5 separate regions of the Homo sapiens genome follow, and regions 1, 2, 4 and 5 are each linked to region 3. Evidence: promoter capture Hi-C in human tissues and cell types (Jung and others, 2019). All regions are on one chromosome and are shown on one strand. Each heading gives the region's core, a stretch centred on a gene start or on the middle of the fragment in contact. The rest is flanking DNA. Distances are from core to core; before and after follow the strand shown. Region 1 overlaps LNPEP (leucyl and cystinyl aminopeptidase). Region 2 overlaps LIX1 (limb and CNS expressed 1). Region 3 holds the start of ERAP2 (endoplasmic reticulum aminopeptidase 2). Region 4 overlaps LIX1 (limb and CNS expressed 1). Region 5 overlaps LIX1-AS1 (LIX1 and RIOK2 antisense RNA 1).

Evidence for each region. The method cuts DNA at HindIII sites, captures the fragments that hold promoters and counts their contacts. A contact is called where the count stands out against the background at its distance.
Region 1: a contact is called between a fragment that was not itself captured here and the fragment with the promoter of ERAP2 in region 3, in 1 of the 25 tissues and cell types used here (spleen).
Region 2: a contact is called between a fragment that was not itself captured here and the fragment with the promoter of ERAP2 in region 3, in 1 of the 25 tissues and cell types used here (dorsolateral prefrontal cortex).
Region 4: a fragment that was not itself captured here is called in contact with the fragment with the promoter of ERAP2 in region 3 in 1 of the 25 tissues and cell types used here (spleen).
Region 5: a contact is called between a fragment that was not itself captured here and the fragment with the promoter of ERAP2 in region 3, in 2 of the 25 tissues and cell types used here (aorta and dorsolateral prefrontal cortex).

What each region holds. Positions count from the first base shown.
Region 1 is chr5:97,026,006-97,028,795 of GRCh38, forward strand. It overlaps LNPEP (leucyl and cystinyl aminopeptidase), which reads left to right. Exons shown (of 18, transcript NM_005575.3): 16 at 612-752; 17 at 1,728-1,809; 18 at 2,397-2,790. The coding sequence ends at 2,528. Among named protein-coding and RNA genes, the nearest start is that of LIX1-AS1, 46 kb to the right of the region's middle. The HindIII fragment of the contact is 3,542 bases long and covers 1-2,790 here.
Region 2 is chr5:97,098,544-97,101,382 of GRCh38, forward strand. The region is part of intron 4 of LIX1 (limb and CNS expressed 1); the gene reads right to left. LIX1-AS1 (LIX1 and RIOK2 antisense RNA 1) reads left to right here. Exons shown (of 8, transcript NR_187470.1): 5 at 394-430. Among named protein-coding and RNA genes, the nearest start is that of LIX1-AS1, 26 kb to the left of the region's middle. The HindIII fragment of the contact is 6,743 bases long and covers 1-2,839 here.
Region 3 is chr5:96,875,250-96,878,093 of GRCh38, forward strand. It overlaps ERAP2 (endoplasmic reticulum aminopeptidase 2), which reads left to right and starts at 1,251. Exons shown (of 19, transcript NM_022350.5): 1 at 1,251-1,278. It also overlaps a transcript of ERAP1 not described here. RefSeq lists enhancers at 890-1,019, 1,040-1,189, 1,360-1,569, 1,940-2,149. The HindIII fragment of the contact is 2,321 bases long and covers 1-1,479 here.
Region 4 is chr5:97,123,743-97,126,609 of GRCh38, forward strand. It overlaps LIX1 (limb and CNS expressed 1), which reads right to left. Exons shown (of 6, transcript NM_153234.5): 2 at 724-887. Among named protein-coding and RNA genes, the nearest start is that of LIX1, 17 kb to the right of the region's middle. RefSeq lists an enhancer at 34-1,233. The HindIII fragment of the contact is 8,097 bases long and covers 1-2,867 here.
Region 5 is chr5:97,076,861-97,079,560 of GRCh38, forward strand. The region is part of intron 1 of LIX1-AS1 (LIX1 and RIOK2 antisense RNA 1); the gene reads left to right. Among named protein-coding and RNA genes, the nearest start is that of LIX1-AS1, 4.5 kb to the left of the region's middle. The HindIII fragment of the contact is 6,816 bases long and covers 1-2,700 here.

The sequences.
Region 1 (2,790 bases), core at 227-2,726, 150 kb after region 3:
TTGTTCAGATGTCGGGCTTTGGTATTTATTACTGTGTGACTGTGGGTCAATTAGATAACCTCAGTTTCTTCAACTATAAAATTGAGTTAGGTAGTATTAATAAATACCTACTTTATAGCATTGTTGTGTCAAGGACTTAGAACATTATTTAGTACATAGTGTCAGTAAATGTTTGCTACGAACATTAATAAGAGTATATTCTGAAATGTATCCTAATTTTCAAATAATTCAAATGACCTAGTTTTTTTTAAGAATAGTAATATAATTAACCTGCCCATTCAAATCAAATAAGGTTTTTACCAGAAAAAAATACCCACCTCCCGAATTGTAATAAATTCTACCAGAACTTATTTCCTAAATGTTTTTACTATTTAAAAACTATTTATTGTCATGTGACAATATAGGTAAATGCCTATTTTATTGGTGAGTTCTTTCTTCATTTAAAAAAAATGACATTTTCAATCTATAGATCAACCGTAGACTAATGCAACAGTTATTTCTCAATTTGCTACACAGCTTTAATTAGGAAACCATACTAATTTTAATTTAAGTTCAGTCATCACTTCTTCATGAATAATAATTTTGGAGGCTAAATCTGCTTTGCTCTTCAGGTTAATGAAAAGTAGCCTGAATGGAGATAACTTCCGAACACAGAAGCTGTCTTTTATCATTAGAACAGTGGGTCGACATTTTCCTGGACACTTACTGGCATGGGATTTTGTCAAAGAGAACTGGAATAAGCTTGTACAGAAGTAAGTTTCTCAGAGAATTATTAACTTTTAGTATTCTCAAGTTGTGCATTTGAAAAAAGCTCCCAGTGTTTTGGCTCACAGAAGTTAGGATTTGCTGTGAGAGGAAAAATACTTCCATGACAGTTTAACTGAAACATCCGGAAATTTTCACATTTGTTAACATAATTCCATAGCATGAATCATTTAACAGTAGCATTCCATCTAAGTTCTAATTAAGCCTAGCCTTGCTTGGCACCAGGTTACTTAGCTCAGCGTGGCTACAGACTATTTCATAGCAACCATTTAGCTATGCATATTGAAAAATACCTCTGTATGGCCGGGCGCGGTGGCTCACACCTTTAATCCCAGCACTTTGGGAGGCCGAGATGGGCGGATCACGAGGTCAGGAGATCGAGACCATCCTGGCTAACACGGTGAAACCCCATTTCCACTAAAAATACCAAAAATTAGCCGGGCATGGTGGCGGGTGCCTGTAGTCCCAGCTACTTGGGAGGCTGAGGCAAGAGAATGGTGTGAATCTGGGAGGCAGAACTTGCAGTGAGCCGAGATTGTGCCACTGCACTCCAGCCTAGGCAACAGGGCGAGACTCCGTCTCAAAAAAAAAAAACAAAAAGGAAAATACCTCTGCATTGCCAAGGCATCAGTTAAGAACTCACATTCAGCTAGATGCAGATGTAGGTTTTTTGCTTCTTTCTCTCTTTTAAATCAATAATGGCATTTCTGGGTGTACAGTGTGATCTTCGACAATGTTAAGCGGATTAATTGTCTGCATGTTCTGAACTCTTCCCTTTTTCTGCCCACCTTTCCTTCCCACCGACAATAAGTATGCATAGGGCTACCCCGGTTTCCTCAGTTGCAGTTCCGGGAGGAGGATTCCACTCTGGCTTTGGCATTAAAGACTTTTCCTTGCACTCAGGAACAACGCTTTACCAGCAGCTGCCTAATCTTTTTGCTCTTGTTTTTGTGTTTCTTCAGGTTCCCTCTGGGGTCCTATACCATACAAAATATTGTTGCTGGATCAACTTACCTGTTTTCAACAAAGACACATTTATCTGAGGTTGGTTTTATAAAATGATAATACAGAGACTGGGCAACCCTCCGCACACCCGGACCAGGCTGCTCAGTTTTAGTGAGATGGTGGATTTTCATGCTAATTCCTTCTCTTATCTCTGTCTTCCTTTATCAGTACTAATGATTCTGCATTGTGATTACTTCTAGAGGGTGGCATATATGATAATGAGGAAAAAATCTGATTCCATTCTCTTCCCTTGTCTCCCTAATACAAATAATTTAAGTGGTCATAAAATTGTTTGGAAGAATTGCATTCTTGGGGTGAATTCATAGCACCAAGCCTTTGGACTCTACTTTATTTATTGTTACTTAAACATCTCCTTGGTTCCATTTTAAGTTAGAAAAATGTATCTGTGTGGGAGTAAAAAGATTTCCTTTTTAAAATCATTTCAGATATCACCATACTTGATTGGGAACTCCATGTAGATACCTTGAATATTAAAGTACTTCTTTCTACTGCTTTCAAGATAGCAGCACAGCCATCACTAAGTTAAAGCTTATTTTAAAAGCTGGGGTTACCTGAGGTTTATCGTCCTTTTCTTCTTTTGAAATTCTTCTGTGTGAAACTTACAGGTTCAGGCATTCTTTGAAAATCAGTCAGAGGCAACCTTCCGGCTTCGTTGTGTCCAGGAGGCTTTGGAAGTCATTCAGTTGAATATCCAGTGGATGGAGAAGAACCTCAAAAGTCTCACATGGTGGCTGTAGCATGCACAACCGCACCTCATTTTGTTGCCCATTCAGAGAGCTTGTAAGCTTGGGCTCTGCCGCTTTTGCAAAAGCCAAGGTAAAGCCAGGATCGCTGCCAAGTTGTTTGCACTCTTTGGAGTTCTAGTTAGCTCAGGGCCTGACTGTATTTTTCATCCATCTTTTCTGAAGTGTCTTTGGGCAGTATGTAGTTATTTATTACAAAATTATATTCACCTAAATGCCAACCATCTACAAAAACAATGAGTAATTTTTCTACTTT
Region 2 (2,839 bases), core at 12-2,511, 220 kb after region 3:
AAATAGTTATGAAAACTTAACATAGACAGATGTCCTACTGTCCATTCAAAAAAGCTTTTAGCTGGGCACGGTGGTGTGTGCCTATAGTTCTAGCAACTTGGGAGGCTGAGGCAGGAGAATTGATTGAGCCCAAGAGTTTGAGACCAGTCTGGGCAACATAATATTTTATCTCTTAAAACAAAACAAAAAAGCTGACTTCAATTAACTGTCTTTACATCTGCTTGCTTGGGAAGAGGTTCTCTTATGAAAATCAGGAGACTCATAGTCAGGTTTTAGGCATCTTAAAATTATTTGGTAAATTTTAAAGCTATCAGATTATTAGAAGAGCAAATAGCACTTCTCTCATGTCTAAAATTGCCATTGGAATGAAATGTTTTTCTTCTTTTCTGTCAGAGATCCAGTTTGGCATTCTGTCTAAGTTCACTGCACAGTAAGTACTCTGAGAGCCCACAGACACCTCAGTAAAAGCAAAACCACTTGTGTCTGCTAATTAAAACACACATGAATACCAGCTGAGCTGCTCCTTCTGCCCGCCCCCAGATGGAGACCTCCCTGTCTGCACAGGGTCCTCGGTCCAGTGCCCAGGGATGGCTGTCCCCTCCTGGCCCCTCTCCTCCACATCTTCCTGCCCTTGTTCAGACTTTCACTTCATCACGTCAGTATGCTAATTTGAAAAAGTGGGAGTGCTTTGTTCGAGAAACCAAATCTCGTCCAATCTGGCTGTCACTGCTGTTCCTCTCAGGCTTTCCATCAAAGTGGCCCCAGTGGCTGAGAAGGGCAAATTTGTGTTGCCCTTCCTACCATACTAACAAACCAACTCACCGAATACTTTGAAGCCATAAAAATGAATGGGAAGATTGTTTTAATATTTGGGAACCAGTCTCTATGATGTAACAGGAGGGCCAATATTTGTAAATAAGAAAAATTTTTTGGTTTTATGTCTTATAAAGATCCACTCAAATTTTGCATTCTATTGTGTATGTCCATTTTTAGAAAAGAGAAAATAAATATTGGCCAGGTGTGGTGGCTTGTGCCTATAATCCCAGCACTTGGGAGGCTGCGGCAGGTGGATCACTTGAGGTCAGGAGATGGAGACCAGCCTGGGCAAAATGGTGAAAACCTGTTTCTACTAAAAATAAAAAAATTAGCCAGGTGTGGTGGTGGGTACCTGTAATCCCAGCTACTCGGGAGGCTGAGGCAGGAAAATTGTTTGAACCTGGGAGGCGGAGAGTACAGTCAGCTGCGATCGCGATACCACACTCCAGCCTCGGCAAGTGAGTGAGACTCCATCACAAAAAAGAAAATAAATATCACTCCACTCCTCCGTTTGACCCCCACAACCCTAAATCTTTATGTAAAGTTGAGAACTCAGACACATATACTGGATTTATTTTGTGGCTTCCTATAGCTATCTATCTTGGCATTGTTCTTGCATCCTTGTGGCCCAGTTTGAGAAACAGCCTATTGCTAACAGGGCTCTTAATTCCATCCTCTGATAACTGTTGACTTAGAAACATACTATTCTTCCTCTGGGGTCTTCTGGGCTCTTTTTCTTATCTATACACTAACTGCTCTCCCCGCCCCATAAGGGACTATCATTCCACCCTGAAAATCTCCTAAGACTTTAGAATTCACAACTCTTCTGTGAACAGAACCAAAACCCTTTCTCATGCCCCTTGACAACCTTCATCTTTCAAAAATGTCCCCAAAGAGACTTGAACTGCTTTCGTCTCCAGGATGAAGGTCAACCTCCTCACCACCTCTGGTTTGTCTAAATTTCTATCCCATCACGAAGCAGCTTTTTTTTTCTCTCCAGTAACACAACTGCCACTTCCTCAGTGTTGCTTTTGTTCTTAACATTCCCTAGGGAAGATGACCTCCTTTCCAACTTCTTACATTATATCCCCATCTAGTTTTTGTCCTCTGTAGAGATATTCATCTTGCCATCATTATATAAAGTATATTTAAATATTTTCACATATTTTTTGTCTCACTTCTTTATTTCCCCTCATAAGACCAAATTCACTCTCTTCACATTTTCCCAAAACTATTAGCTCTTGGCTCAACTCCAGGAAATCTTTGCATGCCTCTGACTGATTCCATTGGAAATCCTTGCATGATTGCAGAGTGGGAAGGAGAGGGCTGCTGTGGAGTTCTGCTTACTAGTTTCCCCATGATTCTTTGCTGCCTGGTGTTCGCTGGCTCATATTCTACCTGGAGAAGCTCTGTTACTCTAAAGGAAGTTAGTGTAGTCAGGTGCTGTGGAATGTCCCAGCTACTTGGGAGGCTGAGGCAGGAAGATCATGAGTTTGTGCCCAGCCTGGGCGAAATAGTAAGACCTCTGTCTCAGAAAAAAAAAAAAAAAAGAATATATATAAATTTTTTTTTAAATAAAGGAAATTAGTGTTGTCTTTTCCTGTGAGGGTCTGTCATAGTCCTCACGGAAGTCTTTTGGGGTGTGGTGTTTTGTTTGTGGGGTAATCTGGAAGCCTGAGGGGCCCAGCTGCACCAACAGAAAAACAAGTTAGCCTCATAAGGTGAGGCAGGTGAGGCAGGTGAGGCAGGTGAGGCAAGGTTTAAAGTGAGTGGGGCCAATTATACATGTTCATGGTCTTTTATTTATAATTCTGATATTTTGTTTATCGTGAATTTTTGGCATGAATTTTGAGTTTAAAAAATAATGCATTATAATATTATTTATCTTGATTATGAAGTTTTTAAGCATCCCTTTCAATTTTGTACCCAAGAGAAATGTGTCACTTGCCTAGCCCTTGTCTGTCCCCTTCTTGTGGCTCTGTCTCAGGGGCAAGCCCAGCTTCATGGGCATGAGGTCTGTGCA
Region 3 (2,844 bases), core at 1-2,500:
AAAGGCCAGTTGCGGTGTCTCATGCCTGTAATCCCAATCCTTTGGGAGGCTGAGGCAGAAGGATCACTTGAGCCTAGGAGTTTGAGACCAGCCTGAGCAACATGGGAAGACCTCATCTATAAAAAAAAAATAATAAATTAGCTGGGTGTAGTGGTGGATGCCTGTAGCCCCAGCTACTTGGGAGGCTGAGGTGGGAGGATCATTTGAGCTCAGGAAGTCAAGGCTGCAGTGAGCTGGGATGGCACCACTGCACTCCAACCTGGGTGACAGAGTGAGACCCTATCTCAAAAAAAAAAAAAAGAAAAGAAAAGGAAAAATCAACAGGCTTTGGTAACAAATTGGAGAGGGACAGAATCAAAGTAACTAACTATATGGTTCAATCCTAGATAATGGAAGAAGGCTGGAAGCATATAAAGCAAAGGGTGTTTATCTGGGGAAAGAAAACACTATTTGAGTTGTCAGGGTTCTGGTTCAGGTTAGGGTTAGACATCCATGTACTGTTGGTCCATCAGGCTGTTGGAATTACAGCAGCAGAACCCTTGAAGGAGGGATCACAATGGGAGCAATGTGGGATGAATGGGGATAAATGCTAAATCTGGGTACTGGAAAGGATAAAGAGAGGGCAGAGCAAAGGCCAGAGGTTTCATCTTTGTGGAAGGTCTGTATTCAGAGCAGAGAGGAAGTTGAAGCCCAACTCAAACAGGCAGATAAAGAGAGATCAAAGAGATGAGCATGAGATACAGTCCCCTCGTGCCCAAGGAGACAGGGTGGTTACAGACATGGAAAATCTGAGAATAATCACCTCTGATAAAGATCACAGAAGCTGCCCGGGAGGTGTTTGGTAAGCTTGGAGTTACGTTTGTGGGGTGGATGGGCAGAAGTCAGATTTCATAGCACTGAGGATGCAGCACAAGGAGAAGTTCAAGATCAATTCCTAAGACAACAACTTGGCACTAAAAAACATAAACTATGTTCTGAAGGCTTTACCCTGGGGACAAGGGAAGGGAGGTGATAACAGCAGAAGTGGCAGCCACTGGCGATCCTTTCTTTCCATGGTTTGGCTTCTACTCCAAAGCCACTTATTTGTGCATTCTACAAAAAGTTTCTTGTCCTTTTTGAAATAAAGCTCTTATCCTAAGCTCCATTCACACCTGCGTGATAATGAACCAGCTAGTACTTACTGTACTCAGGAAGCATGCAAAGTTCTGAATCTTAGAACAGAAAGTGAAAGCAAAAGTAAATTCCCCTTCAGTCAAATCTGCAGCAGCATGATTTAAGGTAACGTATCAACATTTCTCTTGGGTTTGTCTTAAAATTAGATTTTTTCAATAAGAATAATGAACTGAAGGTATAGAACTGCTGTGTTGAGAAGGTTTTGTAATCTAAGGCAAGGTTCTGGGGGACTGGGGTGAATTGGGCGCGGCTGTATTAGAAAGTGTATGCAGTTGAGGCTGGGACTTGATCTAAGACGCTGCTGCACTGACTCTCTTTCAGAGATCTTTTTGTCTTTTCTAAGCGTTTGTGACAATTCTTGCCTCTTCAATCCCAGGATGTTTTGTTCACTGCATTGCTATTTAAGGTACAGTGCAGTATAATAGAAAGCCCACCAGACCAAAGGGCAAAGAGCTATGTTTTAGTCCTGATTCTGTTTCAGACTTCCTGTGTGGATTTTGAGAAGTCACCATCCTGTTCCTTCATCTGTTTATTTAATTTAATTTATGTATTTATTTATTTATTTATTTTGAGAGAGAGCCTCGCTCTGTCGCCCAGGCTGGAGTGCAGCAGCACGATCTCGGCTCACTGCAACTTCCACCTCCCTGGTTCAAGCGATTCTCGTGCCTCAGCCTCCCGAGTAGCTAGGACTACGGGCATGTGCCACCATGCCCGGCTAATTTTTGTATTTTTAGTAGAGGTAGGGTTTCACCATGTTGGTGAGGCTGGTCTCGAATTCCTGACCTCAGGTGATCTGCCCACCTTGGCCTCCCAAAATGCTGGCATTACAGACCTGAGTCACTGTGCCCGGTCCTGTTTCTTTATCTGAACACTAAGGACTTGTACTAGCTGGCCTTTACAACCCTTACTAGTTCTAAAGTTAAAGACTGTGTGAGTAAAGCTTTTCTCTCTACTCTTATCAATCAAGTACATCTCTAGGAGTGTCTGCTACAAGTGGGGGCGAGCTACTCCTTCATTTTGGCCATTGAATGCAAGTTATAACCTCAATAATAATTTCATATCCAACACTAATTACTTACTTCCTATATGCTCCATGCTGTGCTGTGCCAACTTCTTCACATGAATTATTTCATTTAATCATCCCAGCATGAGGAAGGTATAATTATTACACTGTTTTATGGTTGAGATAAATGAAGCTCAAAAAGTAAAAAACTTTGCCCATGATCACGTAGGTGAGGTTGGTGGAATTAGCGTTGGAATCTGGGCACTCTGATTCCAAAGCCTCAGACCCACATAATAAGCCACTCCATTTTTTTTAAACCCTCCAAAATTCAAGCTAATAGACCAATTATGAGTGTACTTATCAGACGTTCTTGGAACACTGAGATTTGTAGCAGTAATTTAATGCTTGTTTTTAAAAAGAGGGAGAAGTATCTTTAATATTATTTTATTTTTGTTCCTTTAACAATACCTGTCACCTGCATTAATATTGCAAATTGAAAAATTGAAGTAATTGTTTGGATAATTAATGCTGCAGAACTTGTTAAGGATTATAAAAAGAAGAAGTAGCAGAGAAAACCTTCATGGTTTGAGTTGGAGCAGTAAGGAAGTAAGTAGAGGCAGGTGGTAGGGTGGCAGTAAGAATTGATTCCCCCAAATTAACTATGCTGT
Region 4 (2,867 bases), core at 156-2,655, 250 kb after region 3:
TGTCCTCTCCCAACCGTTCCTTGCCACACATTAACCCTTATGCTTCCCTAATTCTGAAAATGCTGTGGTTCCCTATGCTAAGAGTGTCATTTTTTCCCTTTCCCATTGGCCAAGACATCATCAACTGAATGCCTCAGTTCACATTTATATTTCTTGTGAATCCTTCTTTGACTTCCCAGAGGCAGCATAGGTTTGTAGGTCTGTTTATTAAATTATACCCTTCCCTCACTCAGTGAAGGATTTGAAACCATGTAAAACAGATACACCTGGTAACAGGATACAATAAATGAGTGACTTCATAAGTTCAAAGGGAGAGTAAAGGTTAAAATATAAATAGTATCAGGTATGACGTTAGTCTTAAAAATTATATGATATTAAGTTCTGTAGACTTACACTACAAAAAAATGACCTGAAAATTTGCCTTGGGCTTTTTAGTTGACAAACTAAGAAACTTGATTGCTTATGAGTTTCACGGTATCCATAAGCAAGAAATAAAACATCTTTGCCAGTTATTGAAAATTGAGGGATAATTTACTCAATTAAAAGGGTATTTATAAAGGATATTGGCAAATTTAATTCCTTTCTGGTTGTTTTCATTCATAGGATATGGTACAACTTTGTTCACTATTTCCAAGAAAATTTGTAATGTTACCAGTTTACAAAAAGGTTTACTTTATTTTAGCCCAATGAACTTTCACTGACAAATTAATGGCTACTTCTTACCTGAAAGTTGCCAAAACAGCTTCCCCCTGGGAGGGTCACGTAACTCACAAAGGGAGGCCCAGGAGCTGGCAGTGACTCATAGACCACCACACCTTCACTTGGGAATGCAGCCTTCTGCTGCTGCTTGCTTTCCCAAAATTCCTGTAACATTGACACAACGTTCACTGAAAAAGACAAGAAACACCATCAGTTATTAAGGATGGACATAATCTGGTGCAAAACCAAAATTTTATTTGCAAGCTGGATTCTGTAGCATGACAGTTCCAGTTTAAGTAGAGCTGGGTATGTGGATAGTGGGGTGGAGGGGCTTTTAGCTGTGAAAGAATATACTTTATTTAAATATATTTAAAGTATGTTAAAATATACAAATTGAACCTGTTATTTACAAATGCAAATGTGTATATTTCTTAATGAGTAAGGCTCAAGAAGTGGTTTTGGTACCCTAATTAAAACAATATAGCAGTATTTCAAATTTACTCTATAAATTAATTTTTAATATAAAAATTAAAAATCTCATTCTGCTTTGAACATTTGTCTTAATAGACTTTATCCAGAGCTGTGATTATCTGTGGTCCTCTTTCTCATTTCTCATAGATTCTTAAGCCTGCAAAGATTTAAGAAGAGAAAGTCAGAAAGAAGGGAACTCTTTCATGCTCCTTCCACCCCAGTCTAAACGAGAATGAAAGGCAGTTGTAGAATAAGCAGGAGGCTGGAAAAATCCATGAGTGAAACTAATAACATGAAGACCTTGTTAAGAACAAGGTCTGTTCGAGTATTTCAGAAAACATAGTAATGGCTAGAGCCATATGTTTTAGATTAAATGACCTGTGATAGCCTGCAGAAGTTCCAGATCAAATTAGATTGGTTTGTTTATCCTGTACTGCAAATTAAATTGTAGAAATTAACAAGGATAATAGAATTGTAGAGTCAAAAGTGACCTTATAGGTCATGTAGGCAAAGCCCTGCCTAATGCAGGAATTCCTCGCCAGCATTCCTGACAGCTGCTCATCTGGCCTGTACCTGAACATGTGGAAGGACCTAGTACTTGCCACAACCTGAGGCAGCCTATTTCAACTGCTAATGGTTCTGTGAAAAGGTCCTTGTAGGAGTGAACTGAAATCTGCTTTCCTGTAAGGTTCATGCAGAGGGTCTACTTCTCATTTCTGAGGCCTCAAAAAGTTTATTTCCTTATCCACATGGGAGCCCACCACAGGTTTAAAAGCAGTATAAGACATCTGTTGTTTTGCTTGCCTGGCATTCACTTCCCTGCTTGTGGAAACAGCACCAAGATTTTCCTTGAACAATCATGTGGTCTCGAGGGGTGCAGGTGGGAATTTGGCCATAGCCAAGCCATTTAGGGACAATGAATGTGTTGAAAATGTTGAAAGTTTCCTGTTTTCAGTGGGGTTTCTGGAGCCGTAGGAGGTAAGCATGGTGCTGCCCAAGCAAGAAGAAAATCTGGCTGAGAAGAAAGCCCAGAGAACGGTTCAGTAAAGAGATGGAGGAGGGCTAAGTTTTGACAACATAGTTTGAGCTCCTGGTTTCAGCTATGCCCATAATCCAGGATCCTTGATTGGACTTGAAGTTATCTAACCAACCCACCTGCTTTTTCCTTAAGCCATTTTCAGGTGGCATCTCTCACATGCATATGAAAAGTACACTAAACAGTCAACACTCATGTTTTTTCAAGTTCTAGATTAAATAGTTTTTGCTCTTTCAAACATGCTTTGTGTAACACGGCATCTATGCCCTTTGCCATTATCCTGAATATATTCTTGGATCTGCTTTAAAATTCTGGACAGTGACATTTTTCAGTGAGTCTGGAGTATCTCAGAGTGTGATCTGGAGGCAAAATCATTGTATAGCCACTTTCTAAATGTTTACTAGAGCACTAGGTGTCTGCACCTCCTCTGTAGGTCACTGATCAGCTTCATGGTGTATAGTTCAGGCAAATTCTGGCAACTCCTAAGGAACTGGTTGCCATGTATATTTAAAAACTGCAGTGTTTAGTAATTTAAGAAGTGATTTGGGAAAGAAATTGGGAAAATGTTAAAAGTAGTGAGGGGATACTTGAGTTAATCAATAAAATACATATTGAATGGTCAAGTTGAGAATTGGTCATTACAGAGCTTTTTAATTTTTTT
Region 5 (2,700 bases), core at 66-2,565, 200 kb after region 3:
TTACCTTATAACTTTGGGATTAGAATAAGTTTCTGATAACAACATTTACAAGAATATTTGCCATAGATAACTCTATTTGTTCGCCTATGTTTATGAGTGGAATTTGATTTTATGCTCAAAAACTATTGATGACAATCTACTATTACAACTGTTGATGACAATCTACTATTGCATCTCTGATTTGGCTGTATACAACTGGACAAGTGTAAAATGACTCTGCAGATATCTTTAAAATTAGGAATCCAGATAAAAGCATATGCGGGTGAGGTTTTTTTGGTAAAATGTATTTTACAAGTAAAAGAAATTAAACAATTTAAAATGTACATTGTGGAATATAAATTTGTCACAATTAACAAGTGGTAGAGTGACTATGTCACAATTTAGTTGGGCAGAAGGGCAGGGGCATACCAAGGCTATGTAAAACGATTCACATTAGAACTTCTAATTGTGTGGAATTAAGAAAATTTGGCTAGGTGGAGTGGCTCATGCCCATAATCCCAGCACTTTAGAAGGCCGAGGTGGGTGGATCCCTTGAGCCCAGGAATTTGAGAACAGCCTGAGCAACATGGTGAAACCTTGTCTCTACAAAAAGTTAGCCAGGTGTTGTGGTGCATGCCTGTAGTTCCAGCTACTCAGGAGGCTGAGGTGGGAGGATTAACTAAGCCCGGGAGGCAGAGGTTGTAGTAAGCCGAAATTGCATCACTGCACTCCAGCCTGGGCCACAGAGTAAGATCCTGTCTCACAAAAAAAAAAAAATAAAATAAAATAATGAAGTAAAAGAAAAAGAAAAAATTTAAGTAGACTATGATGAAAGATAGCAAGCATTTATATTATATCATTCAATTAGAGCACCGTCTGAGTTAATGTTTTATGAGATTGCAGTTTTCAACTGTAGAGGATTACTTGATCATATTTGCTGTTTAACTTTCCTCCCTCATTAATCTATGGTTAACTGAAGTAGATTATTTGTTTTCAATTTGATCTAAATATGTCTTTTATAATCATTTCCATCTTTATAAACATAATTAATTCCTTCAAGTGTCCAGGTGGTAAATTCTCTCCTACATCTACTTCTATATATAGAGAGAGAGAGGGAGAGAGCTGGCAAGGAAAGAAAAGAGACAGTAATATATTGCTTAATGAAGGGGAGAATTCTGAGATTTTGTCATTTTGCAAACATCGTAGAGTGGACTTACACAAACCTAGGTGGTATAGCATATTGTCCCTAGGCTACAAACCTGTACAGCATGCTGTACTGAATACTATAGGCAATTGTAACACAATGGTTGGTATTTCTATATGTAAACATAGAAATGGTACAGTAAAAATATGGCGTAAAAGATAAAAACTGGTGCACCTGTGTAGGGCACGTAACATGCATGGAGGACTAGAAGATGCTTGGGGTGAGTCAGTGAGTGAGCAGTGAGTGAATGTGAAGGCCTAGGACATTACCCTACTGAATACTTTATGAACACTGTACACTTAGGCTACACTATAAACACAAATTTTTCTTTCTTCAATAATAAATTAACTTCAGCTTACTGTAACTTTTTTTTACTTTAAAGTTTATAAGGTAGGTTCGTTTATACCAGCATCACCACAAACATGGGAGTAATGCATTGTGCTACGATGTTATTATGGCTATGACTTCCATAGGTGATGGAAGTTTTTCAACTCCATTATATTCTTATGACGCCACTGGCATATGTACAGTTTGACATTGACTGGAAGGTCACTGTGCAGTACATGACTGAATATACACATACACATACTAACAATTTGGATATTAAACAGGGGAGATGATATAGATTATTGGGCAGAGAGCATAGTGGCATTGGATCGTTTGCTGATGATATTTGCATAAAGTAATTAAATCTGCCCCTGAGAAATAAACTTCCTTTGCTGATAGGAAGAAAATCTTTCTCATCAGACAGGTTTTCCTGTATCAGGGTTTACTCAGTTTGAACTGCTCAGGTATTATAATGCTGAAGCTTTCTCTTTTAATTACTTAGGCAAACTGGAATAACTTTCCTGCATACAGAAATGTATTTTGTTTTAAATGCTCAAAGTCTAATTAATCAGAATGTCGGTGCTCATTTGTATCAGGGGAAACCAGGGGAGAAGAGGGGGAAGGAAATTATCACAGTTGTCTTTGTTCCTTGGTGCTAACAGATTTAAAATGTCACCTTTGCTGCAAACTCTGTACCTCTGTAATGACAGAGAGGAAGCACAGCTGTGTGCCTTGGCTCTCTTGTGGGACCAAGTGAATTTCGTCAAGGGATCTGTAGCATCTATTGTGAGGGTGGAGGAGCTGATTCATTTAATGACACATGGGTTTGAGACATCATTTGCCAACCCCACTGAGAAAAACAAAACAAGAACTTAACCAGCACATGGGCACCATGTGAGCTTTTCTCTTTTTGTGTCCCTTTTCTTTATTGTTCAGTGCCCACCCCTTTCTTGGTAGGCAGAGGGGATATATATAGAGAGAAGGGGTGTGGGACACAAGGGCTGGTATAGAATGTGGAAATCTGTAGCATATTATTTCAAAGCACAGCACAATGGTTTGGTGGGAATCAAAGAATAGAAACAAAAATGTTCAGTGGCATAACCAAATAGAATGGTGCAAGGGAAGAAGGCACATAAAAGGAAAAGAGAAACTCTCAGCACTATTTGAATGGGCAGTTTAATGTTTGTGCT